Regions from separate parts of the Homo sapiens genome. Here regions 2, 3, 4, 5 and 6 are each linked to region 1. Evidence: promoter capture Hi-C in human tissues and cell types (Jung and others, 2019). All regions are on one chromosome and are shown on one strand. Each heading gives the region's core, a stretch centred on a gene start or on the middle of the fragment in contact. The rest is flanking DNA. Distances are from core to core; before and after follow the strand shown. Region 1 holds the start of RBPJL (recombination signal binding protein for immunoglobulin kappa J region like). Region 2 holds the start of SPINT4 (serine peptidase inhibitor, Kunitz type 4). Region 3 overlaps PABPC1L (poly(A) binding protein cytoplasmic 1 like). Region 4 has its middle 22 kb from the start of WFDC8. Region 5 overlaps STK4 (serine/threonine kinase 4). Region 6 overlaps STK4 (serine/threonine kinase 4).

Evidence for each region. Contacts are between HindIII fragments. The study calls those that stand out against the background at their distance.
Region 2: the fragment with the promoter of SPINT4 here is called in contact with the fragment with the promoter of RBPJL in region 1 in 1 of the 25 tissues and cell types used here (spleen).
Region 3: a contact is called between a fragment that was not itself captured here and the fragment with the promoter of RBPJL in region 1, in 1 of the 25 tissues and cell types used here (dorsolateral prefrontal cortex).
Region 4: a contact is called between a fragment that was not itself captured here and the fragment with the promoter of RBPJL in region 1, in 1 of the 25 tissues and cell types used here (dorsolateral prefrontal cortex).
Region 5: a contact is called between a fragment that was not itself captured here and the fragment with the promoter of RBPJL in region 1, in 1 of the 25 tissues and cell types used here (dorsolateral prefrontal cortex).
Region 6: a contact is called between a fragment that was not itself captured here and the fragment with the promoter of RBPJL in region 1, in 2 of the 25 tissues and cell types used here (dorsolateral prefrontal cortex and mesenchymal stem cells).

Annotation. Positions count from the first base shown.
Region 1 is chr20:45,305,062-45,308,924 of GRCh38, forward strand. It overlaps RBPJL (recombination signal binding protein for immunoglobulin kappa J region like), which reads left to right and starts at 1,779. Exons shown (of 12, transcript NM_014276.4): 1 at 1,779-1,883; 2 at 3,082-3,190. The coding sequence starts at 1,862. MATN4 (matrilin 4) reads right to left here and starts at 3,238. Exons shown (of 10, transcript NM_001393530.1): 1 at 3,114-3,238; 2 at 449-555. The coding sequence starts at 521. The HindIII fragment of the contact is 4,763 bases long and covers 1-2,956 here.
Region 2 is chr20:45,720,286-45,724,148 of GRCh38, forward strand. It overlaps SPINT4 (serine peptidase inhibitor, Kunitz type 4), which reads left to right and starts at 2,062. Exons shown (of 3, transcript NM_178455.3): 1 at 2,062-2,197; 2 at 3,595-3,772. The coding sequence starts at 2,083. The HindIII fragment of the contact is 7,531 bases long and covers 1-3,863 here.
Region 3 is chr20:44,938,202-44,942,064 of GRCh38, forward strand. It overlaps PABPC1L (poly(A) binding protein cytoplasmic 1 like), which reads left to right. Exons shown (of 15, transcript NM_001372179.1): 14 at 473-547; 15 at 925-1,115. The coding sequence ends at 541. Among named protein-coding and RNA genes, the nearest start is that of TOMM34, 20 kb to the right of the region's middle. The HindIII fragment of the contact is 3,038 bases long and covers 293-3,330 here.
Region 4 is chr20:45,598,938-45,602,800 of GRCh38, forward strand. No RefSeq gene overlaps it. Among named protein-coding and RNA genes, the nearest start is that of WFDC8, 22 kb to the left of the region's middle. The HindIII fragment of the contact is 6,478 bases long and covers 1-3,863 here.
Region 5 is chr20:45,029,633-45,033,495 of GRCh38, forward strand. The region is part of intron 10 of STK4 (serine/threonine kinase 4); the gene reads left to right. Among named protein-coding and RNA genes, the nearest start is that of STK4, 65 kb to the left of the region's middle. The HindIII fragment of the contact is 5,333 bases long and covers 1-3,863 here.
Region 6 is chr20:45,047,726-45,051,588 of GRCh38, forward strand. The region is part of intron 10 of STK4 (serine/threonine kinase 4); the gene reads left to right. Among named protein-coding and RNA genes, the nearest start is that of KCNS1, 51 kb to the right of the region's middle. The HindIII fragment of the contact is 3,661 bases long and covers 93-3,753 here.

The DNA of each region.
Region 1 (3,863 bases), core at 529-3,028:
AGCCTGCAGGGACCAGGCAGGGAACATGGATGAACTGGTTGGGTTAGGACGCTGGAGACCCAAAGAGCCCCTATCACTCCTAAATTGGGCAGGTAGCTGCATCCAAATGAGGCCATGCCCCTGCGAATTGGATGTCAGCAGATCCCTGGTTTTTCAAGAGAAATACTAAACAGGGATTTTTATGTAAAATTTCCTGGTTTTTTTCCATGTTTTCAAATAATTTTTCCAAATTAAACACCCCATGGGCAGTTCTGCATGCGCCCAAAACTAAGCCACATCCTACAGATGAAGAAACTGAGGCCCAGAAAGGTGAAGTGGGGAACTTAAACCCAGTCCCATATGTTCCAAAGCCCTTGCTTCCCTCTCCCCAGCAGGAGGAGCTGGCTGCAGAGGGAGGACCTGCTTCCGCTCCCCTCCTCCCACTGGTGAGGGCTGGGCCCCAGTTCACCTGTCAACTGGAGCTGGGTTTCCCAGGGCTGAAGAAGGAGCAGCAACACGGGCCAGCAAAGAAGGCCTCTCATGGCGCTTGGGGACAGAGAATGGAGGTGTCAGAGCCTGGAGGGAGGAAGGAAAATAGAAAAGCAACAGTATTTACAGAGCTCTTATTCTGGGTGATAGGCACTTGGAGGGGGAAGACAGTTACAGGTTTATTTTACTAATCTCTCTATTTTTGTGTATGTTTGAAATGTTTCAGAATTAAAAAATTCTCATCACAGTGGGATTGCTGGGAAACACAAGAGATTCTTTTTTTTTTTTTTTTTAGATAGAGTCTTGCTCTGTCGTCCCGGCTGGAGTGCAGTGGCATGATCTCGGCTCACTGCAACCTCTGCCTCCCAGGTTCAAGCGATTCTCCGGCCTCAGCCTCCCGAGTAGCTGGGATTACAGGCTCCTGCCACCACACCTGGCTAATTTTTTGTATTTTTAGTAGAGAGCGGGTTTTGCCATGTTGGTCAGGCTGGTCTCAAACTCCTGACCTCAGGTGATCCTCCCACCTCGGCCTCCCAGAATGCTGGGATTACAGGCGTGAGCCACCGCGCTCGGCCCACAAGAGAATGGTAAATAAGAATAGATACATAGATACAAATATGCAAAATTTAAACAGAAAAAAACAGGTCTTCCTTAAATGTCAGGCACAGTGTTAAATGCTCTTCACGCATTGTGGCATTTAATCCTCTCTGCAATTGTAAGACTAAGGCTGTGATTGTCCCCCATCATACAGACAATGAAATTGAGGCTCAGAAAAGTTAAGCGCTGGTACCCAAAGTCATTCGGCCAAAAAGTGGCTGCGGCAGGATACAATCCCACGCCTGCTAGTTTCTGTGAGCCAGCCTGGGCGTTTGGTGCCTCTCCTCCTGCCAGGCGAACCTCTGCAGACAGAAGCCCTTCCCCACCTCGGCCCACTCCCCTACGCACACAGGCTTCTGTGTGGCTGTCTTTGCAACTCGCCAACCCCCCCAGACCCCTCCACACACACAAACACAGACATGCACTGCCCAACCGCAGGCGGCAGGGAGGGGCTGCGCCCTGTTGCGGGGCTGAGCGTGGTGGCGTGGCAGCGAGTGGACCAAAACCCACTGCGCACGAGAACGCGCGGCTTGGCGCCTGTTTCCCGCCTGCTCTCAGGAGCGACCGCCAGGGGGCGCCCGAGATGGCAGGGGGCGTGGGAAGCCCACATCTGCCCAGCAGGTGCGCCCACCCCGAGCAAACAGGGGGCCGGGGCCCGGGGCCTTGGAGATAAGGCCTGGACAGGATATAACCCGCGCAAGAGCCGAGGAGCAGGGGTGTGCAGGGTTCCAGCGACAGCAGCACTGGACTCGTCCAGAGGGCGGCGGGTGAGCGGCTGGGGCCCCGTGGAGCCACCATGGACCCCGCAGGGGCAGCAGGTGAGCGCTTACCCTCCCGAGGCCCCGGAGACGCCCCGTGAGAACTACGAAGGACCACCCCCCCACCCCCTCCCCACTATACAAATAGGAAAACTAAGCCCCAAGGAGGCAGCCCGCCGAACTGCAAAAGCAGGATTAGAACCTAGGGCTCCTGGTTCCCCTTCTCTCTCTTGAGGCCCCCTGGCGCCTAGAATTCACTAAACCTCATTTCCTTCCAGCTCCTACCCCACCGCCGCGCCCCATGCTGAAGCTGTGTTAGCCATTTTTCTGTTGCTGTTTCTTGGCAGAGAGGGCCAGCTGCCCCTAACCCAACAGCAGCTCCGCCCCCGCCCCCCAATTCCGTGAATGCGCCTATTCTGAGCGAGGCCAGTGCCTGCTTCTCACTCCAGGCGACCTTCTCATCCCGGATTCTTCTCCCTTTTCCCCTCCCAGGCCTGGTAGAAGAACATAAATCCTCTGGCAGGGCCCGTCGTGGGAGGGTGACCAAGCAAGATGTGGCAGCGCTGGTGGAAGTGGGAGGGCGGGGAACCCTTGTCAAGCTTGGGCCACAGGCAAAGCCAACATCCCTGGACAGCATGAGGGCTAAGGCACAAGGGGCCTCTGCCACCTCCCATACTTTCCTACCCGGAGATGCCTCTGGGCCCCTAAATCTTGGTTAAGGTTCCCCTCATCCCATTCTTGGTCTGAGCCAACTTCTCACCTGGCACCCTGCCTCCACCCCAGGAATCCTAGAAAGTCAAAATAGCAAATGCCTCAAAGTTCATCACCTTTCCAAACCCCTCATTCTACAAAGAAAGGAACTAGGTCCAGAGAGGGTAGTGTCTTGCTGAAGGGTACATGGCGATGTCGTGGCAGGACTGATACTAGAACCTGGGATTCCTCTGAGGAGTTAATCCTTGCATTAAAAAAAGAAAGATTCAGAGATGCCCTGAGGTGAGGTTGAGGGAGTGGAGCAGCAAGGGAGGAGAGGCCTGTAAATAAATTCTCAAAAGTCCCTTAGGGACATTTCAGGGGGTTCCTGGAGGGATGAGAGTAGAAAAGGGATGATCCTATTTTGATGGCTTTGAGGGTGGGGGCTCGATTTGGAAAGGACCCTGCAGAAGTGGGGAAGGGCACTGCAAATCAGATAGGGCACCCTAGGCAGCGTCTCTGCTAAAATACACTCGCCTGACCTGGCTTGATGCCTACTCCCCTGCAGACCCCTCAGTGCCTCCCAATCCTTTGACTCACCTGAGCCTGCAGGACAGATCAGAGATGCAGCTGCAGAGCGAAGCCGACAGGCGGAGCCTCCCGGGCACTTGGACCAGGTAACGGCGGCGTGGCAGCGTGCCCTAGGTGGGGACTGCCAGGCAGCTGGAGCACACAGAGGCAACGGCCGCATTTAACCCAGGGCTGGCGGGTGGGGAGGGGAAGTGCAGGCTGCAACCCCTCCCACTGGCAGGGAGGGATCCCCCCTTCCTCCTGAGGGGGGGCAAACCCAGCACCCCCTGCTCCTACCACGCTTGGAGCTGCAGACAGGGCTAGCTGCGGGCCAGGCTGGAATTCAGCTACAGCGGGAGACTGGGGAGACCGGGGCAGCCACACTCCACAGCCGGAATTCATTGGAAGCTTAGAAGGCACTTCCCTGAGGAGAGCCCCAAGGGGTGGAGCGGTCCTGGCTGTGGCTGCTGCCTGTCTGGCCTGGCTTTCGAGGGTGCGGTCTTGCGCTGTCCCCTCCAGGAGTGAGGAGAGACTCTGGTCCTGCCAAGAGGAATAAGGGCTCAGAAGGACAGCCTCAGTTTTCATGGCTCTCCTTGGGCCTCAACCTGCTAACCCCCCAAATCTCTCCCACCTCCCCTCCTCTACTTGCTCCCTGCAATTGCTCGGGCCTACCCACCCACACCGCTCAAGACCCCCAGGTTAAGAAGCCACCAGACCTCTAGGCTCTAACCTGGCTCACTCTGCAGGACCAATGTCATCTGCCTTGACTCCTGTAATCAA
Region 2 (3,863 bases), core at 812-3,311, 420 kb after region 1:
AGGCAGAAATACCATCTGACCCAATAATCCCATTACTGGGTATATACCCAAAGGAACATAAATCATTCTATTATAAAGACACATGCATGCATATGTTCATTGCAGCACTATTCACAATAGCAAAGACATGAATCAATCCAAATGCCCATCAATGATAGACTGGATAAAGAAAATGTGATACTGAAATATATATATATACACACACACACCATGGAATTCTATGCAGCCATAAAAAGAAATGAGATCATGTCCTTTGCAGGGATATGGATGGAGCTCGAAGCAGTTATCCTCAGCAAACTAACACAGGAGCAGAAAACCAAACACTGCATGTTCTCACTTACAAGTGGTAGCTGAATGATGAGAACACATGGACACATAAGTGGAACAACACACACTGGAGCATATCATGGGGGTGGTAGGGAGAGGGAGAACATCAAGAAGAATACCTGGTGAATGCTGGGCTTAATACCTAGGTGTAGGGATGATCTGTGCAGCAAATCACCATGGCACACATGGTTTATGTATGTAACAAACCTGCACATCCTGCACATGTACCGCTGAAATTAAAATAAAAGTTGAAGATTTTTTTAAAAGATAGCATTTACAATAATATTAAAAATATAAATAAGATTGTAACACCTGCATGAGAAATGTCATAAACCTTTCTTTAAAATATTAATGAAGGTCAAAATAGATGGAAATATATATATCAAAGACAATATTATAAGGATATCATTCTTTTCCAATTGATTTGTAGATCCAGTGCAATTCAAATGAATATCCAAAATAGGTGTTTTGTTTTTGTTTTTGTTTTTGTTTTCGTTTTCGGTCAGAGTCTTGCTCTGTCACCCAGGCTGGAGTGCAATGGCACAGTCTCAGCTCACTACAACCTCTGCCTCCCAGTTCAAGCAATTCTCATGCCGCAGCCTCCCAAGTAGCTGAGATTACAGGAACTCACCACCATAACCAGCTAATTTTTGTATTTTTAGTAGAGACGGGGTTTTGCCATGTTGACCAGGCTGGTCTCCAACTCCTGACCTCATGGGATTCACCCACCTCAGCCTCCCAAAGTGCTGGGATTACAGGCATGAGCCACCACGCCTGGCCCGAAACAGGTCTTTTGAATAACTTGATAAACTGACTAAAATTTATATGAAAATACAAAATCCTAAGATAAACAAAGTTCAAGAGATTAAGTGTGGCTTTGGAGTGGGGGTATACAGTGGAGTGAAATAAAGGGCTCAGAAGCAATCCCACATAATTAAGCAAAATTATTTTGCAGTTAAATAGAAGAGGAACTCATTAATAAATAGGTCTGGAACCACTGAAAAATGAAAAAGGATCCTTATGTTATACCTTACCAAAAAATCAACATCAGGTGGTTTTAGGGTGTAAAGGTAAGCCAAAACTTCAAAACTTTTAGGAGAAAACAGATCCAAGATGTCCTCATGTTCCTAGATAACATAGTGTAGTGTGACTAAGAACAAAAACTCTGAAGCCAAGTTCAAATCTTGTCTCTACCACATAATAAATGAGTGACCTTGTACATGTAACCTAATCTCTGTCTCCATTTCATCCTTAAATGATGGTAATAACTGTACTTACTTCATAGGGTGTATATGATGATAAAGTATATACAAATTACTTAAAAATAGCACCTGGAATTAAGTAGTACTCTAGGTTATAACTAACCCTGTTACTATTATTATAGTGCTATTGCACTCTTTCTCTTGTGCCATGATTAGTTTCTTCTGTGCATAAAAGGTCAAAAAGAGAAAGGAAGAAATCCCTTTTTAATTCCTCACTCTGATGATTCTACCCTTCATGATTAAATATATGCAGAAGCTCTGATCCTTAAGTTTCTATTGCTTCTAGATGAACATGGGACTCACTATCAAGGGTCTAATCAGTTTGGGGCCTTCAGCTTCATGGCTGGGTACCCAAGCACTCACTGTTCAACTCAACACCTAGTAATGTCCAGTCCTGGCCCTTGGGGTAGGTGAGCTCAACCGTCTCAAGTATCAAGCCCAAAATATAACATCAGGTGATACCACAACTATCCTGCCTGCTGCTTGCTGCACCATGAAGTCTGCCAAGCTGGGATTTCTTCTAAGATTCTTCATCTTCTGCTCATTGAATACCCTGTTATTGGGTGGTGTTAATAAAATTGCGGAGAAGATATGTGGAGACCTCAAAGGTATGAAGCTAAGGCAGAAAATAAATCCAAAGGTCAATTATGAATGAGAGAGAAGGTATTGGGAGAAAAGTGTGTTATCTAGGTAGTCCAGGAAGGTCTTCCTTTCATGACAATACCCATAGACACTTAGTCCCTTGACTCAGGGCATTACTTACACTAGGGGTCCTCTGGATGTTTGATGAGAAAAAACAGAAATGACACAAAGTCCTTTCCAGATGGAGACCTCTTTTATAGGAGGTCCAAAGGACTGGAAGTATTTTGAATCAGAGGTTGTGTGACAAATTTCAAAGATCCCAGACCATTGATGATTATGTATTGGGATGAGAGAGAAAGGGGGTTGGAGACAGAGCAAATTAAGACATTTTCAGTATCTGGGCTATGGACATATACAGAACTCTTGGACAGATGATTCCTGTTTAGAGGAGCTCACAATGTAAATGTGAGAGGCAATGAGACTTTCTTCCATAGATAGTGTGTGAAGGCTCAGCGCTTCCAGGGGACGAGAAAGTAGCACAGTTTATACCGTAAGTCAGACACTTCAAGTTCTGGACCTGTTCACTTAGCAGATATGTGCCCTTGGACAAGTCACTCAACCACTTATTATTCTCTTAGTCTCAGTTTCCCCATGTGTAAAATGAAGATCAGAAAAGTGCCTGCTGCAGAGGGTGTTTGTGAGTATGAAATAAGATTATGCACATAACTTTACCAGAGAGTAAATTCCAGGCTGGCTGCTTGAGTAAGGTGGATTGTCAATACAACCATGATTGTGGCTGTTCCAACCACTTACTACCCAACTCTTAACAATAAAAACAGAGGGTTTGCCTCTGAGAAGGCAAGAAAGGAGAAGATGACGGGGTATGAGGATGAACGAGCATCACCCCAAGGTTATGCATTTTAGCATTTTAGTATGCATCCTGCTTTAAAGATAGCAGCAGCCATGGTTACTTAAATTTTGAAGTATAGGTAGTATAGTGAATGTATGAAACTGGGGAGGAGGCACTCTGAATTGCATGTCCTATGTGGGCAATTAAAAGGAAAGGAAGATGATGTGGGGAAGCAGGAGGATACTGTACTTTAATAAACTGTAAGATAGGAAATGTAGGGAAGCTCATCGCCCTGCACAAGCTAGTGGTGGAACCTCCTTTTTCACTGATCACTACTTCTCCTTCTCCAATACACTGCTCACGACAACAACCTGGAATTTTAACCAATTTGCATTGTGCAAGGGCAACATTTCCAAGCAACTCTAACTCCAAGAGAAAACCACATCTTTCAGAGTCCTTGAATATGAGAATAGTTCCAGGCTAAACGTAGGAATTTTTAAGGGCCCATAAAGACAAGTTCTCCTGCTGAGTCCTTACCAATTCCCACTAACTCAATGGGAACCTCTCATGCAGATCCCTGCAAATTGGACATGAATTTTGGAAGCTGCTATGAAGTTCACTTTAGATATTTCTACAACAGAACCTCCAAAAGATGTGAAACTTTTGTCTTCTCCGGCTGTAATGGCAACCTTAACAACTTCAAGCTTAAAATAGAACGTGAAGTAGCCTGTGTTGCAAAATACAAACCACCGTAAGGAATCTAATCCTGTCCTTGGTCCTTGGGGGTAGTAAAAGAAGAGGTTTTGACATCCTAAGATAGAGAAAATTGATCAGGGGCTAAC
Region 3 (3,863 bases), core at 562-3,061, 370 kb before region 1:
GCCTGGGCAGCAGGGAGCCCGAGGGGGCAGGAGGAGAGCTAACGACAAGGGCTCTCCTAGTGGAGCCAGTGGATAGCTGTTTGGCCAGATAAAGTGTTTCTTCTTGCTAATACCTGAAGGCCTGCTGAATCTTAAGAGTGGAAGGGGCCTTAGGTAAGGGTTTGCTACTTCAGCCCTTCCGTAGACTAATTCTGTGTTGTTCTGTAGGTAGGTCTTTTGGTACAAGGAAGTGTGTTGTGACTCAGTGTAAGGGTTAAGATTTTTCCAGCTGTCCAGCAATGTACCTCTGTGTCAAAGGTGACAGACAGGGCCATGGGATCTTGCAAGCAGTGGTGGATGGGAGGGTTCCACAGAAACCCTGTGGATGGAGGAGGATCCTGTATCCAGGATGGTGAGCGAGGGGGAGATCAAGGCTCTTCTGTGACCTGCTAAGATAGCTGCACTAAGCCCCCCCGCCACTCATGTCTCACAGATAGACGAGGCAGTGGCCGTGCTGCAGGCACACCAGGCTATGGAGCAGCCGAAGGCGTACATGCACTGAAACCAGGTGGGTGGAATGGTGACAGAAGCAGCTGAGCCCGGGAGAAGCTGTAAGGAAATAGGCAGGGACTGACTTTCACAAACACTGAGAATTGCGCCGTGTTCCTGGCTTTCTCTGAAGCACCAAAGAGTTTGGAGGAAGTTGTGAGAATCAGAGGAGATGATTAACTGTGATCGGAATGGGGGGTGGTGGAGGGTGAAGGAGGTGCCCTCTTGCCAGCTGCCCTGCCTGGCTTCATGCAGAATAGTTTGGGCTTTCCCAGGGCCCTGCCTGGCTCCATTCTGCCTGCCTGAAGGCCTGGCCAGGATGTAACCACCTTCTTTATTGAAGACTGGGTGTCTGCCATACTTTAAAAACACTTATTTTTACCTTTTTGTCCTCAGAAAAGGAAATCCTCGCTTCCATGGCTGCCAAAAGGACAGTGTTTCTGGCTCTCAGCCCTAAGGCCCTGCAAACTCTAACTTATTTCCCAATTAGTCTGTATCTATACTTGGGCTCTGTATGTGAATGAAGGTTGGTCACCCATCCAGCCTATTACCTTTTGCTTTGTGTATTAAAAGTGCTGCAAAATCTGCCTTGCCTCCCAGGAGGCCCTTTTGTGTCTGAGGGAGGTGGGGACAGAGCAAACGGTAGACATGACTGGGGTGGGGCTCAGGCTCTAAGAAACAGAAACCCTAAAGGAGTGCTGAAGTACACAGAGGGCATATACACAAGAGCAGGAGAAGTGTTAGGAACTGACCCATCAACAGTACAGTGGATGATGACATGGATATCACACAATGGACCAGAGCTACAGGGGCCCCCATCTGATGTGCATGCAGCCCCTGGCTTGGGCACCCTGCAGGGCAAACACCCAGCTGCTTCTCGGCTGGCTAAGGGGTTGTGTAACATAATTAACCCTTGTAGGAACGTTTTAGGGTACCTTCCCAGGTCAGGATTTTCCTCCCCTAATGGAGAAGTCTCTCGAAAAGCTTCTTTGTGTCAGTTAGTGCTCACCTCCCATCAGGGACGTACAGTCCAGGTCTTTGCCCTCTCGTGTACCGGAGCGGCCCAGTGAAAGTGGCTACTATGACCCAAGCAGACTGGGTTCTGCTAAAAATTCACCAGCAACAAATCTGACCGAGTCCTCAAGGCTGCTCTGCCACTCTCAGCAACTCACTCTTCCTGTTCTCCGCTCCACAGACCTCCAACCTGTCTTCACCATGTCCTGCCCACTTCTTTGGCTGCTTTTAATCTGTTCCCTGTGCAGCTCCATCGTCTTCTCCCCAAATCCTGACTGCTGGCATTTCTTTACTCTCAGTCCTGGGCCCTCTCGGTTTCTCATGCCATGTTCTCCTGAGCTATCTAATTTACAAGCGCATCTTCCATTTGTACCCAGTCGAGGATGACTCCCTGTTTTTTTCTTCAGCCCAGTCAACTCTTAAGAGCACCTGAGTCACCTCTCTTACATTCCACCGCCTACCTGCCATCAGCTCCTGGTTATCTTGGTAACACTCATGTCTAAATTCAAGCTTATGATTTAACTAAGTTTCTTTCTTTTTCATTCCTTGGTTCTTTTTTTTTTGAGACGGAGTCTCGCTCTGTCACCCAGGCTGGAGTGCAGTGACGTGACCTCTGCTCACTGCAACCTCCACCTCCTGGGTTCAAGCAGTTCTTTTGCCTCAGCCTCCAGAGTAGCTGGGACTACAGGTGCACTCCACCACACCCAGCTAATTTTTGTATTTTTAGTAGAGATGAGGTTTCACCATATTGGTCAGGCTGATCTCGAACTCCTGACGTCAGGTGATCCACCCGCCTCGGGTGGGGTTTACAGGCATGAGCCACCGTGCCCGGTCTTATTCTCTGATTCTCTCTTCCAGTGTTCTGTCTCCATAAATGGCCCCACCATTCTGTTGCAAAAGCCAAAATCAGAGGGTTTCCCCAGCCCTGCTGCCACACCACTTTCTCTCCTCCCCTCTTCCAGAGAAAATCCACCAACATGACCTCCTACCAGATCCAAATCCACTACCACTACCTAGTGGAATAAATCCACTAATTTGAGCTAAGCTCAACCCCTGCGCTCACTGCCTTCTGCCAGTTAACTGCATTTACCCTGGCCCTCCCGCAGTCTGTCCTCCACCATGCAGTCCTAAGGCTTCTTTCAAAATGCCTCTCTAATGTCTCATCCTTGCATAAATCCTGCAGTAGCTTCCCATCATTAGAATAAGGACTACTTTACACAGCCTAGGAGACCCTGCATGATCTGCTCTCTGCCCTGTCATTCCCACGTAACGGTGTTTTACCTTCTCTGGGAGTCGGGGTAGAATTCCATCATGACCATTAAGACAGTCACATTGATAGCTGTGTGTCCCTCTCCTAGAAACATTAACCTATGAGAAGCAGAAGTTTTATTCCTCAAAGCATCTCTGGAAAAGACTGAATGATGTTAAATTTCAAAGATGAGTGATGGGGATGAGGAAGCTTATGTTGTGTTCTTCAGACATTTTTGAAGTACAAAATGAGTAGTCTCTTCGGGTTGTGCCGGCCCCACCCTCTGTGTCTTCACTAGCAAATCAAGTTGCTTGCCTTCTAGAGCTCAGAATGATGTAAACCAGTTGTGACTGGATGTCACGAAACCTGCCTCACATCAGTCCTGCCTGCTTATGAGGCAATAAAAGGGGTACGGTGCCCCACTTTGAAACTGTCCCTTGACTGTGCCGATGGGGTTTGTCTGACTCTAACTCTGCTTCAGCCTGGATGTCTGTGATGGCTCAGACAACAGACTCATCCTTAAGAGAGCTCAGAGGTGGTGTGCTTAACGCCGAGTGCTGCCTAGCACTATGTGATGGGAGCCAAGGGATGATCAGACCCCTTTGTCTACTCTGCTCTGTGGAATCCTAAAACTCTACTTCCATTAGGTGAAAACCAGCCCAGGAAAGGGAGGCAGCCCTTGATTCTAGCTAGATCCTAGAGCACTCTCCAGCCTCACCCCATACCATGTTTTGTGAATTTCATCAGCCCTTTTAGGTCCCTGTACTCACTGGCTGTGCTCCCAATGAGGGCCTTACATGGCCGTTCTGTCCACGGTGTTTCCCTCCCCTCTTCACTAGTTAACCTCCCCATCTGGAACTCAATTCAAGCTTTACTTACTCAGGGACCCCCTTCCCTCCACTGCATCAAATTTCCCCTTTTGGGCAGGGAAATCACTGACGACTGCTTCACAACACTCAGGCAAGCTGCAATTTTACATGTGTGTGGTTGTCTGATTAACTTCTTGCCTTCCCACTGGACTACCAGCCCTCTGAGAGCAGGGGCTGTGTCTATTCACTGCTATCTATCTATC
Region 4 (3,863 bases), core at 813-3,312, 290 kb after region 1:
TGTCATAGCTCATAAGTATCCAGACTTCACCATCTTCTCCCTTTTCTTCAGCACAAAGTGAATGCATTAAGAAATAAGTAATTTTTTTTTCTCCCTTGGAAGTGATCAAAGCTACATACAACTGGTTCTCGAATTCTTTTTTTTTTATACAGAGTCTTGCTCTGTCGCCCAGGCTGGAGTGCAATGGCTCGATCTTGACTCACTGTAACCTCTACCTCCTGGGCTCAAGCAATTCTCCTGTCTCAGCCTCCCAAGTAGCTGGGATTACAGGCGTGCACCACCATGCCTGGCTAATTTTTGTATTTTTAGTAGAGATGGTATTTCACCATGTTGGCCAGGCTGGTCTTGAACTCCTGATCTCAAGTGATTTGCCCGCTTGTGGTTCTCAAACTCTTGACACATCAGTTGAGTGGCAGTGTCCACCGTGCCAAAGCCTTCCCAACTTCAGATGACCTGACGTTTTCTTTCGTTTTGCGGGGGAAATGTAAGTAAAAGTTCCTGGAAATTTCTCAGTTAATTCTTACAGGTCTGGAAGGTGGTCTGTAAGGAAGTCTTTGGATGAAGCTTGAAAAGGGTGCAATACTCATCAAAGCAGTGAGTTCAGCACCAGGCAGATTGAATGTACCACCTTCTCTCCCCTCTTCAGGTCCTATCCTTACCACCCATGTGGTCTCAGGGCTTGGGTCATCTAGTATGAATCACAGCAAACCAGGGGTCATAGAAGTTAGAGGTTTATGATATTAAGTATATGTGCATCTTAGTGATGGGTGCCTCTTGGAATAGTGAGGAAGAAGGGAGGAAAAATGGAGAAGGCTGTGCCACACATAGACCAAAACAAGAAGGCCCTCTCTTTGAGGGGCCCTCCTCTAGCTCTGTCATTTCCCCATAGAGCAAAAAGCTTATGGAACCAAGAGGATGCTCACCTGGAGACTGCACTGCCGCTTCTAGATTACCATGGGTAGCAAGTACCCAAGAACACCCTTTCCAAATGGCTCTAAGCCCATCTCCAGACCTGTGCAGGCTTTTCCTAAGATATATCTTCCAAAAAATGGACCTTGTCATTGGTGTGCATATACCTGAACCCAAGCATTGGCCAAGGGGCAACGGTTTGCAGGTACATGTGGAGAAAGCTTAGAATTGTGGGCTTTTGTGTCTACTAGACTGAGCTTTCTACCCATTCCTCCATATACTCCTCATTATTTTCTTTTTATGATTACAAAAGCAATCCATATTTATTGTAGAAAATTTTTCAAAAACTGAAAAACAATAAGAAGCAAATAGAAAATTACCAGCAATTTAATGACCCTGAAATTATCATGTTATCATTTTGGTGTATATGCTCCATGTAGTGCATCTCCATGGGGTGTGTGTGTCTCTGTGTGTGTCTGTGTGTGTGTCTGTGTATCTGTGTATGTGTGTGTGACCTACACACAACTAGGCATTCCCTAGTGGTGCCAAACAATCAATATCTTTTATGGGCCCTCCGTTAAACATCGCTGTACTCACAAAGAAACATAAATCCAATTCTATAAATATTGGGAATTTTACTGATGGTAAAATTAAAATAGGAGGAGGAGGTTACATCACTATCATATGGTAACATTCCCTTAAAAATCATCTCTTTATCTTTCCTAAATATTCCACTGTCTTTGACTGCTATACCTCTCTCTCTTTTCTTTCACCAAGCCTCTCTCTTTGCTTTCCTTCTGGTAAAAGCAGTCTCTCTCTCTCTCTCTCTCTCTCTCTCTCTATCCCCCCCTCTCCCTCTCTCTCTACCCCTGAATCTGGCCTTTCTAAACACCCTCAACTTGTGTACCTGTATACTATACTGAGCTACACTAAAGTTTCTATATTTAGCCAAATCCAGCCCATCATACCAGCTCTTCCCCTGGTATATTCCTAGGAGTGGAGCTCGGTTCACGCTGTTTCACACTTTCCTTGGGAAACACTCTGTGTTCTTCTGCAAAGAGGAGTAGGCAATATGTTTTCAGATTCACAGACAAGCTTCTCCTTCCACCGTCTTGCTCCCACCCTATGCTAACCTGTTCACAAAGGTTAAGCAAGCAGTTGGAATTATGGAATCTCCCATCTGGTTTCCTAATCATATTTTTACCATCAGTATCAGGCCCATACTCATGTTTCATCCCCACACTGCTCCTAGCCAGGTTCAGAACCTCTCTCTAGGGTCTCCTCCTCTGGTAACAAAAGAATGGGTTTACCATGTTTGTTTCTCATTAGCATAAGTGGTTATAAGATGCACCTCATTTGCTATAATTGAAGAAAAGACAAGTGTATTTCCACTCTCAGAGTCCAAGGCAGTCCCAAGTGTGACTTTTAATATGTCTCACACTTTCTGGGCTCTGAGAAGGGCAGGATGCTAGTGCTCAAATGACCACAACAATGACAATTATAAACATCTCTGACATGAGACATGATGTATACAACTGATTGTACCTGTGTCCTGGGTTTATTTGCAATGCCTGCAAATGAATTCACCCTGTAGGGAGATTATTAAAACTACCATGGATATGTTTGAACTGTTGTGAGAATTACCAAAATGTGAAACAGAGACATGAAGTGAGGACATGCTGTTGGCAAAATGGCACGGGTAGACTTGTTCAATGCAGGTTGCCACAAACCTTCAATTTGTAAAAAATGCAATATCTGCGAAGCATAATAAAACAAGGTGCAATAAACGAGGTATGCCTGTATATCCGACTGATTGATGGTGCTGTTGAGTTCAACTGTGTCCTTACTAATTTTCTGCCTGCTGGATCCCATTCATAACTGAGGCATGTTGAAGTCTCCAACTACAGTAATGGATTCATCTATTTCTCCTTGCAGTTCCATCAGTTTCTGCCTCACATATAGTTTTTAAATGTATTTTTAAATGCACATTTGACTTTTTAAAATGTATATATTTAAATGTATATATTTTAAATATATATATTTAAGGTACACAATTTGATGATTTAATATACATATACACTGTGGAATAATCACCACAATAATTTGTCTATCATCTCAGATAGTTACCATTTTCTTTCTCCCCTTTATTCCTTTCTTGCTTTTTTTCCTTTTTTTTTGGTGAGAATGCTTAAGATACATTATCTTACCAAAGTTCAACTATACAATAAAGTATTGTTAATTATAGTCACATTGCTATTCATCAGATCTCAAAAAAATATTGATTATGCACAACTAAAACTTCGTACCCCTTTGACAACTTCTCCCCACTTCTTCCTCCCTCCAGCTCCTGGTTATCACCACTCTACTATCTGTTTCAACGGGTTTGACTATATTAGATCCCACAAATAAGTGAGATCATGCGGCATTTGTCTTTCTGCATCTGGTTTGTTTTACTTAGCACAATGTCCTCCAGGTTCATTCTTGTTGTGTCACCTGATAGAGCTGTTATTTCTATCTTGGTGAAAGCTGAATAATAGTCTAGTGTGTATGTATGTGGGTGTGTGTTTACCATATTTTTTAAAATCCATGCATCCATCAATGGACATTTAGTTTGCTTCCACATCTTGGCGTTTCTGCATAATGCTTAAATGAACATGGGCATGCAAATATCTCTTCAAGATCCTGTTTTCAATTCTCATCGATATATATCAAGAAGTAGGACTGCTGAATCACATGGTAGTTCTATGTTTAATTTTGTTTGGAACCTCTATGCTGTTTTCCAGAGCCACTACACCATTTTCATTCCCACCAACAGTGCACAAGGTTCCCATTTCCCCATGTCCTTGCCAACACTTGTTATCTTCTGTTTTGTTTTTGTTTTATGGGAGGTGTGTGTGTGTGTGTGTGTGTGTGTGTGTGTGTGTGTGTGTGTGAAATAGTGGTAGTCCTAATGT
Region 5 (3,863 bases), core at 364-2,863, 280 kb before region 1:
CCAGCAGTGTTAGCATCACCTAGAGACTGTTAGAAAGGCAGTTATTCAGGCCTTACCCCAGGCAGACTGAATAGGAATATCTGGGGACAGCACCCATTGATTGGTGTTTTAACCTGTCCTCCTGGTGACTCTTACCCACTAAAGTTGTTCTAAAAGGTTTTTACAGTAGTATATCTTCATATACATTTCTTGTTTTCTTTTCTATTAGGTACTATAGAAATTCAGAGATAAGGATGTATTTCTATTTTATTAACATTGTATGATTTTTAAATTTCCTTGTTATTCCCCTTTTGAGTCTCCTATACTCTTACTGGAGGTACCAAAGAAGCACATAAAATATGGAAAATGTATGTTTGTAAGTGACATCTGGCAAATAAAGAGCTAGTCCTTTGAGTGAAGAAAGTTCTGAATAATCTCCTGAAAGCTTAACGAAGGATATGTGTCAGACTTGCTAACATGTTTCCCTCACAGTTGCTTTTTTTTTTTTTTGAGATGGAGTCTCACTCTGTTGCTCAGGCTGGAGTGCAGTGGTGACATGATCTCAGCTCACTGCAACCTCTGCCGCCCGGGTTCAAGCACTTCTCTGCCTCAGCCTCCTGAGTATCTGGGATTATAGGTGCCTGCCACCACACCCAGCTAATTTTTGTATTTTTAGTAGAGACAGGGTTTCACCATCTTGGCCAGGCTGATCTTGAACACCTGACCTTGTGATCCACTCTCTTTGGCCTCCCAAAGTGCTGGGAGTACAGGCGTGAGCCACCGGGCCCAGCCTCCTTCACAATCTCTTACAGACTTTCTGATTTCTAGGCAGATAGTATTTAATTATGAAAAAAGATAATTCTGTTTCCTCCTATGAAGAGAATTGCTGCTTTCCAATGACCTTTTTGCCCAAAATGGCAAATAGGAAGTAATTTAATCAGGAGTAGCCGAATTTTGTACTGACAAAACTTCATATTTTCATCTGAAACTGAATATTTGTCTCATTTCTAAAAGTGAATTGCCTGTTTGCCAAGTTGAGAAACCCCTCCAAAAATTTCTAATAGTGTTTAAGATACATAGTGATTAAAATATAAAAGGTGCTTAAAAATGCAATAGTCTCTAAAATTGATATTTCATATTCTATTAGCAGATCACTTTTTTGGAAAAAAATGTAATATTTTGTGAGAATTCAGACCTTCCCATTTTGCCATTCATAAAGCCACAAACAGCTGTAAACTTAAATCCAATTTGGCTCATGAATCTTCCAAAAACACACTGTAATATTTTAGTTTAAGATGACCCAGGCTGGGTGCAGTGGCTCATACCTGTAATCCCAGCACTTTGGGAGGCTGAGGTGGAAGGTTTGCTTGAGCTCAGGAGTTCGAGACCAGCCTGGCACATAGTGAGACCCCATCTCTATTACAAAAATAAAAAAAAGATGGCCCAAGTGCCAACAGTGGTGAACAAAACAGACCAGGCCCATGTTCTCATGGAGTTTACAGTGAAGGAAATAGACATTAAGCCAGTACCCTAGTAGGTATCAGTTCAGGTAATAATAGCGAATTTTTTTTTTTTTTAAAGCACAGTTAAGAGATATTGTGAGAAAAGGCCTGTGGAGAGACAGGACATTCAGCTGAGACATCAGTGAAGAGGGGAAGCAAGTCACAGGAAGGTAGGGGAAATAAGTACAGAGACTGTGAGGCAAGACATAGACTATGTGTAAGGAAGGAAAGGAGTCCATTGTGGCTGGAGCCGAGTGACACATGGGATAGCAGTTTAAATGTAAATGCATCAGTAATCACAGTAAATGTGAGTGCACTAAAATCTCCTATTAGAAGAGAAAGAGTCTGGATAAAAATAACAGTCAAATTCCGGCTAAATGCTGTTTATAAGAGATGTAACGGAAAGAAAATACAACCGAAAAGTTTAAAACAGAGGAATGGAAAAAGATACACTAGGCAAATACTCACTAAAAGAAAGTGGGTGAAACAATATTGATATCAAATGAGGCCAAGCATGGTGGCTCATGCCTGTAATCCCAGCACTTTGGGAGGCCGAGGCAGGCGGACCACGTGAGGTCAGGAGTTTGAGACCAGCCTGGCCAACATGGTGAAACCCCATCCCTACTAAAAGTACAAAAAATTAGTTGGGCGTGGTGGCAGATGCACCTGTAGTCCCAGCTACTCAGGGGGCCGAGGCAGAAGAATTGCTTGAACCCAGGAGGCGGAGGTTGCAGTGAGCCGAGATCATGCCACTGCACTCCAGCCTGGCTGACACAGCGAGACTTCATCTCAAAAAAAAAAAAAAAAAAAAATCAGATGAAATAGAATTTAAGACAAAAGAATGTTACCTGGGAAGGATATGTTTTATACTGTTAAAAGGTATACTTTATCTAGAAGATGTAAGTCATGCACCTATATGAAACATACATATTTATCCCAAACTGATAGAAATAGAAGGAGCAATGAGAATACTGCAATTATAGTTTCAAGAAGTTAATCAAGAAGACTTAAATATTCTTCTCTCCAAAATTGACATTTCAGTTAGACAAAAAACTAACGCAATTAACAACACTGATAAAACAGAAAATAGACAAAATTTCTAATATATATGAAACTTTAAAAACATGGAATATTTGTAAAACAACTATTTTATTCTTTTTTTTACCTTTATTTCAGGTTCAGGGGTACATGTGCAGGTTTGTTACACAGGTGAATTGTGTGTCATGGGGGTTTGGTGTACAGATTATTTCATCACACAGGTAATAAGCATAGTAACCCATAGGTAGTTTTTCGATCCTCACCCTCCTCCCACCCTCTGCCCTCAAGGAAGCCCTGATTTCTATTGTTCTGTTCTTTGTGTCCATGTGTACTCAGTGTTGAGCTCCTACTTACAAGTGAGAACATGCTGTATTTGGTTTTCTGTCCTTGTGTTAGTTTGCTTGGGATAATGGCCTCCAGCTCATCCATGTTGCTGCAAAGGATGTGATCTTGCTCGTTTCTGTGGCTGTGTAGTATACCATGTCAACATGTACCACATTTTCTTTATCCAGTCTGTCATTGATGGGCATTTAGGTTAATTTCATGTTTTTGCTATTGTGAATAGTACTGCAGCGAACACAACACATGCATGTGTCTTTATGGTAGAACAATTTCTGTGCCTTTGGGTATATACTCAATAATGGGACTGCTAGGTTGAACAGTAATTCTCTTTTAAGTTCTTTGAGAAATCGACACATGGCTTTCCACCATGATTGAACTAATTTACATTCCCACCAGCAGTGTATAAGTAATCCCATTTCTCTGCAACCTCGCCAGCATCTGTTATTTTTGATTTTCTAATAATAGCCATTCTGACTGGTATGAGATAGTATCTCATTGTGGTTTTGATTTGCATTTTTCTAATGGTTAGTGATGTTGAGTATTTTTTTCACATGCTTATTGACCATGTGTATGTCTTCTTTTGAGAAGTGTCTGTTCATGTCCTTTCCCCATTTTTAATGAGGTCGTTTGCTTTTTACTTGTTAATTTGTTTAAGTTCCTTACAGATTCTGAATATTAGATCTTTCTTGGATGCATAGTTTGCAGAAATTTTCTCCCATTTTGTAGGTTGTCTGTTCACTCTGTTGAAAGTTTATTTTGCTGTTCAGAAGCTCTTTAGTTTAATTAGAACCTATTTGCCAATTTTAATTTCTGTTACAATTGCTTTTGTTGCCTTCATCATGAAATCTTCGCCAGGTCCTATATCCAGAATGGTGTTTTCTAGGTTATCTTCTAGGGTTTTTATAGTTTTAGGTTTTACATTTAAGTCTTTAATTCATTTTGAGTTGATTTTTGTATACGGTTTAAGGAGGGGGGTCCAGTTTCAGTCTTTTGCATATGGCT
Region 6 (3,863 bases), core at 673-3,172, 260 kb before region 1:
ATAAAGCATTTAGCAAAGTGCCTGGCATTCCTAATCTATTATTAATATGTGGGTTCCTTTTAGAGTGATGGCTTATTTATAGTGAAGAAGAGCAGTGGGTTGGGAATCAGGTCTCAGCTCTGACTGTAACTAGCTTTGTGTCCTTAAGTAAGCCACCTAACCTTTCTGGGACTCTGTTTCTTTGTCTGCTAAAGGTAAGATTAAGCCTTCAAGAGCCCTCAAACTCTCTTGGTCTTTGTTTGCCAATTTAAAAAATGCAGCTAATGCGTCTCTCTCATAGGGATCATGTGAGCCTAAAATAAAGAGCTTGTGTAAAGTGTGTAAAAGATGCTCAGTATATATAAGGTTCTTTTCCTGTTCTTTTAAAAGCAGAGAAATGCTTAGGACACCCAGGACGCCAACATGAGCATAGAAGGCAGTCTGATATACTGACCAAGAGCAGATAGACTTGGATCCATTGCTGGTTTCATTATTTATGGGACCAGTAACTCTAGGCTTCTCACCCAACCTAAAATGAAGATACTAATCATATTTACTTCTGAGTTATTGAGAAGATTAATTTAAAAATGCTTTTAAAGTGCTTAGCAGAGTATCTGACACAGAGTAGGCATTCAGTAAATTTTATTTACATGTGTAACACTTAGGGTGGGAGACATGGATGAACTACTGGAAAAGGGAAAGATACTGAGGTGGGCTGCCCTAAAAAAGGAAGGTAAGAGGAAGACCTACACTTATTTCACACTTTTGTTGCAGGCCCTGCTAGTTCACACATTGTTTGCTTTGTGATTTTTTTTTTTTGAGACGGAGTGTTGCTCTGTTGCCCAGGCTGGAGTGCAGTGGCGTGGTCTTGGCTCACTGCAACCTCTGCCTCCTGCGTTCAGGTGGTTCTCCTGCCTCAGCCTCCCGCCACCATGCCCGGCTAATTTTTGTATTTTTAGTAGAGACGGGGTTTCACCATGTTGGCCAGGCTGGCCTCGAACTCCTGACCTCAGGTGATCCATCCGCCTCGGCCTCCCAAAGTGCTGGAATTACAGGCGTGAGCCACCATGCCCAGCCATGATATTTATTTTATACCTAAGATGAGCTTAATTCTGTTATGACTTTCTTGTTCCTAGGGTGAGCTTAATTCTGTTATGACTTTCTTGTTCCTAGGGTTTAAATATCAAGGATACTCACTAAAACACTGATAGACCTTTTGTGTTTTCTCTGATTGCTTCCCTTCTGTGCCTGCCTGGAGGCTATAGGTCCTGGACAGTTCCCACATTGATGTTTTTTTTTTCAAAACAGTTTTTTCCTGATGGTACATTTGTTAATGTAAAATAGCTCAAGTAAATGTATGTGCGTATGTATGAAAGAGACAGAGAGAGACAGAGAGAGCTGTATGGGATCCATCAGCTGCCGAGGGTACCCTTTCATCAAGCAGAGTTCACATTGCAGAGCATTGGATCAGAGGGTGGCCAGCAGCTGGAGGGAGAGCAAACTTGAATCTACTTTATAGACCCACTAGTCACTTCCATTTGCCCTTTACTTAGGAGAAAATACACAGCAAAAACTGTTCTTTAGACATGGATGCATCTAGTTTAATAAATCTTAATGTAGTGCTATTAAAAATGAGGTAAAGTCAGGAAATTTTCTACCCCCTCCCAAGTGCTCTTATTCCTAGATATGCAGGACCAAGCATAAAGTTATTTTCACACATTGGGAAGAAATGTTCCATTCCAATTTCAAGTGGAGGTTTTCCACTTTTGGAAGTGCTGCTGAGACTGCAATTATAAACTACAACTATTCTTTTAAAACAGTTCCTGGGATGAATTAAGATCTTGCAGTAAAAATACCATATACAATCTGTCACATTATCTGTGGAACTCTTCCCTTTGCCAGCTTGGTCAGTGAGGGTAACAGCTGCCCAGAGTTCATTGCTAAACGGATGTTTAACAATGGTACTGTGAATTCAGCACTTCATATTAGAATAATGCTTGAGTTCCTGGTATTCGGTTAATGGAGTTTTACGTACAGTGATACAGAAAATATGTGATGCACAGGATTTCAGCTTTTTAAGAATTCTCACCACTTCTCCTCCCATCTCAATTTTGTTGTTGTGGAAAATGAAAATCCCACAGGAAAGCCAAGTGTAGTCCTCATTCCCTGACTTCTGGCTTTGTACTCCATCACTTTCCACTTCCTTCCCCTCCCCTCTCTACACTGTTCACCTGGGCCTAAACGTCTGAATGACTGCAGCCTCAAGGAAAGCTTCAAGTTAGACTAGATGACCTTTAAGGTTTTGTTAATCCTGAGAATCCGTTTGGCCACATCAATGAGCTCCTTTGTATCTACTCAAATGTGATAGAACAGACGAGCATTCAGAGTAAGGGGATCTTCCTAGGCTGGCTGCAGAGAGAACAGTCAGCAGTGCTCGTGCCATGGCTACAGATTACACATCTCACTCTGGGGGTGTGTGGGGACTGGGAAAGGGGGAGCCAGTTTGGCCTGTGGCACATGTAATTTTTATACTTTGAACTACTGAAATGGGTCTGAGTTCTCCAGCTCTTCACAGACCCCATCACTTCCTGTTTTTGTTTTATGAGCAGACTGTTGAGTTTATTTCTGTTGTCTTTGCCAGTCTCTCAAAACATTTGTGTTTGTGATCTCTGATTTAACCAGTCTCCAGCTGATGGTCATTTAGGTAGCCTTCAGCTTTTTAATATTAATAAATATTGCTTTAATAACATCTTTGCATGGTACGCCCTTAGAATTAATTCCTGCAGTAGAATTATTGGGTCAAACTGTTCACAAATTTGAAATTTTGATACATATTGTTAAATTTCCCTATCGTTTTTGGTATGTGAATTGTTGCTTTATATTATTTACTGAATTTTCCATGGAATTCTTATTTTCTTTATTGATTTTAAAGACTTCTTCAGCTATCAAGTCAGGTTATGAACCTTTTAACATATGTGGTAAAGATATTCTGCTAGAATATCTTTTAAAGCTTTGTATATGGTATCTAACTTCAGACATTTAAATTTTTATATATTTTGATTTATTAGCTTTTTCTTGTGGTTTCTGGAATTTTATGTCATCTTTGGGAAAGTTTTTCACATTCTAAGATTACAAAAATATTAACCCTTACTTTGTTTTAGAATGTTTTATTATTTTTTCTTTCTCAATATTTAATCTATCATGTATTTGTCTTGGTGTTAAGAGTAAGGTAGCAATCGAGCTTTATATTTTTCTAACAACCAAGGGTTTAAAAAATACATAATTAATTTAGAATTACCAAATCTTAATAGCTTATAGTACCTAAAAGTGGCTTGTTTTTACAGATAGAAACTTTCCACTTCAAACTCTGAGTTTTAATGTTTTTCGGCTTTTAAAACCTCTAGAAAGAAACTGTGAACAGAACACCGTATTGGTTTTGGCATTAACCTTAATGCATCTCAAATAGGCTGATTCTACAGAATTTGATCCAAAGTACTTCTATGTCTTGATCCTTTTTTTGCCAAGCAAAATTGATTGTTTCTAACCAAAAGGCCTTTAGTGCTAGACTGAAAGAAAAGTAAGGTGGTCCTTCTGTGCTGGTTGTATTTTATATAATTTGGCATCAAGTACAATGCTTTTTATTTTTCTCTTTAGTTTCTTTCTTTTCTCTAGCCTTTGATGGTCCAGGCCTCTTGTTGCTAGGGGGCTTTTTGGGAGACAAATTCAAATCCTTACTGTCTAGCTCATTGTTATTGTATCTTTTAGTGAGTTCCTTTTTTCATGGTAGTTCAATAAGTGGTTACCAGGGGTCTTTCTTTGACAGTTATTACTAGCTTCTCTTGTATAGTGGGATTTAGCTGTGGGTTGATTTGTTGTGCTGGTAT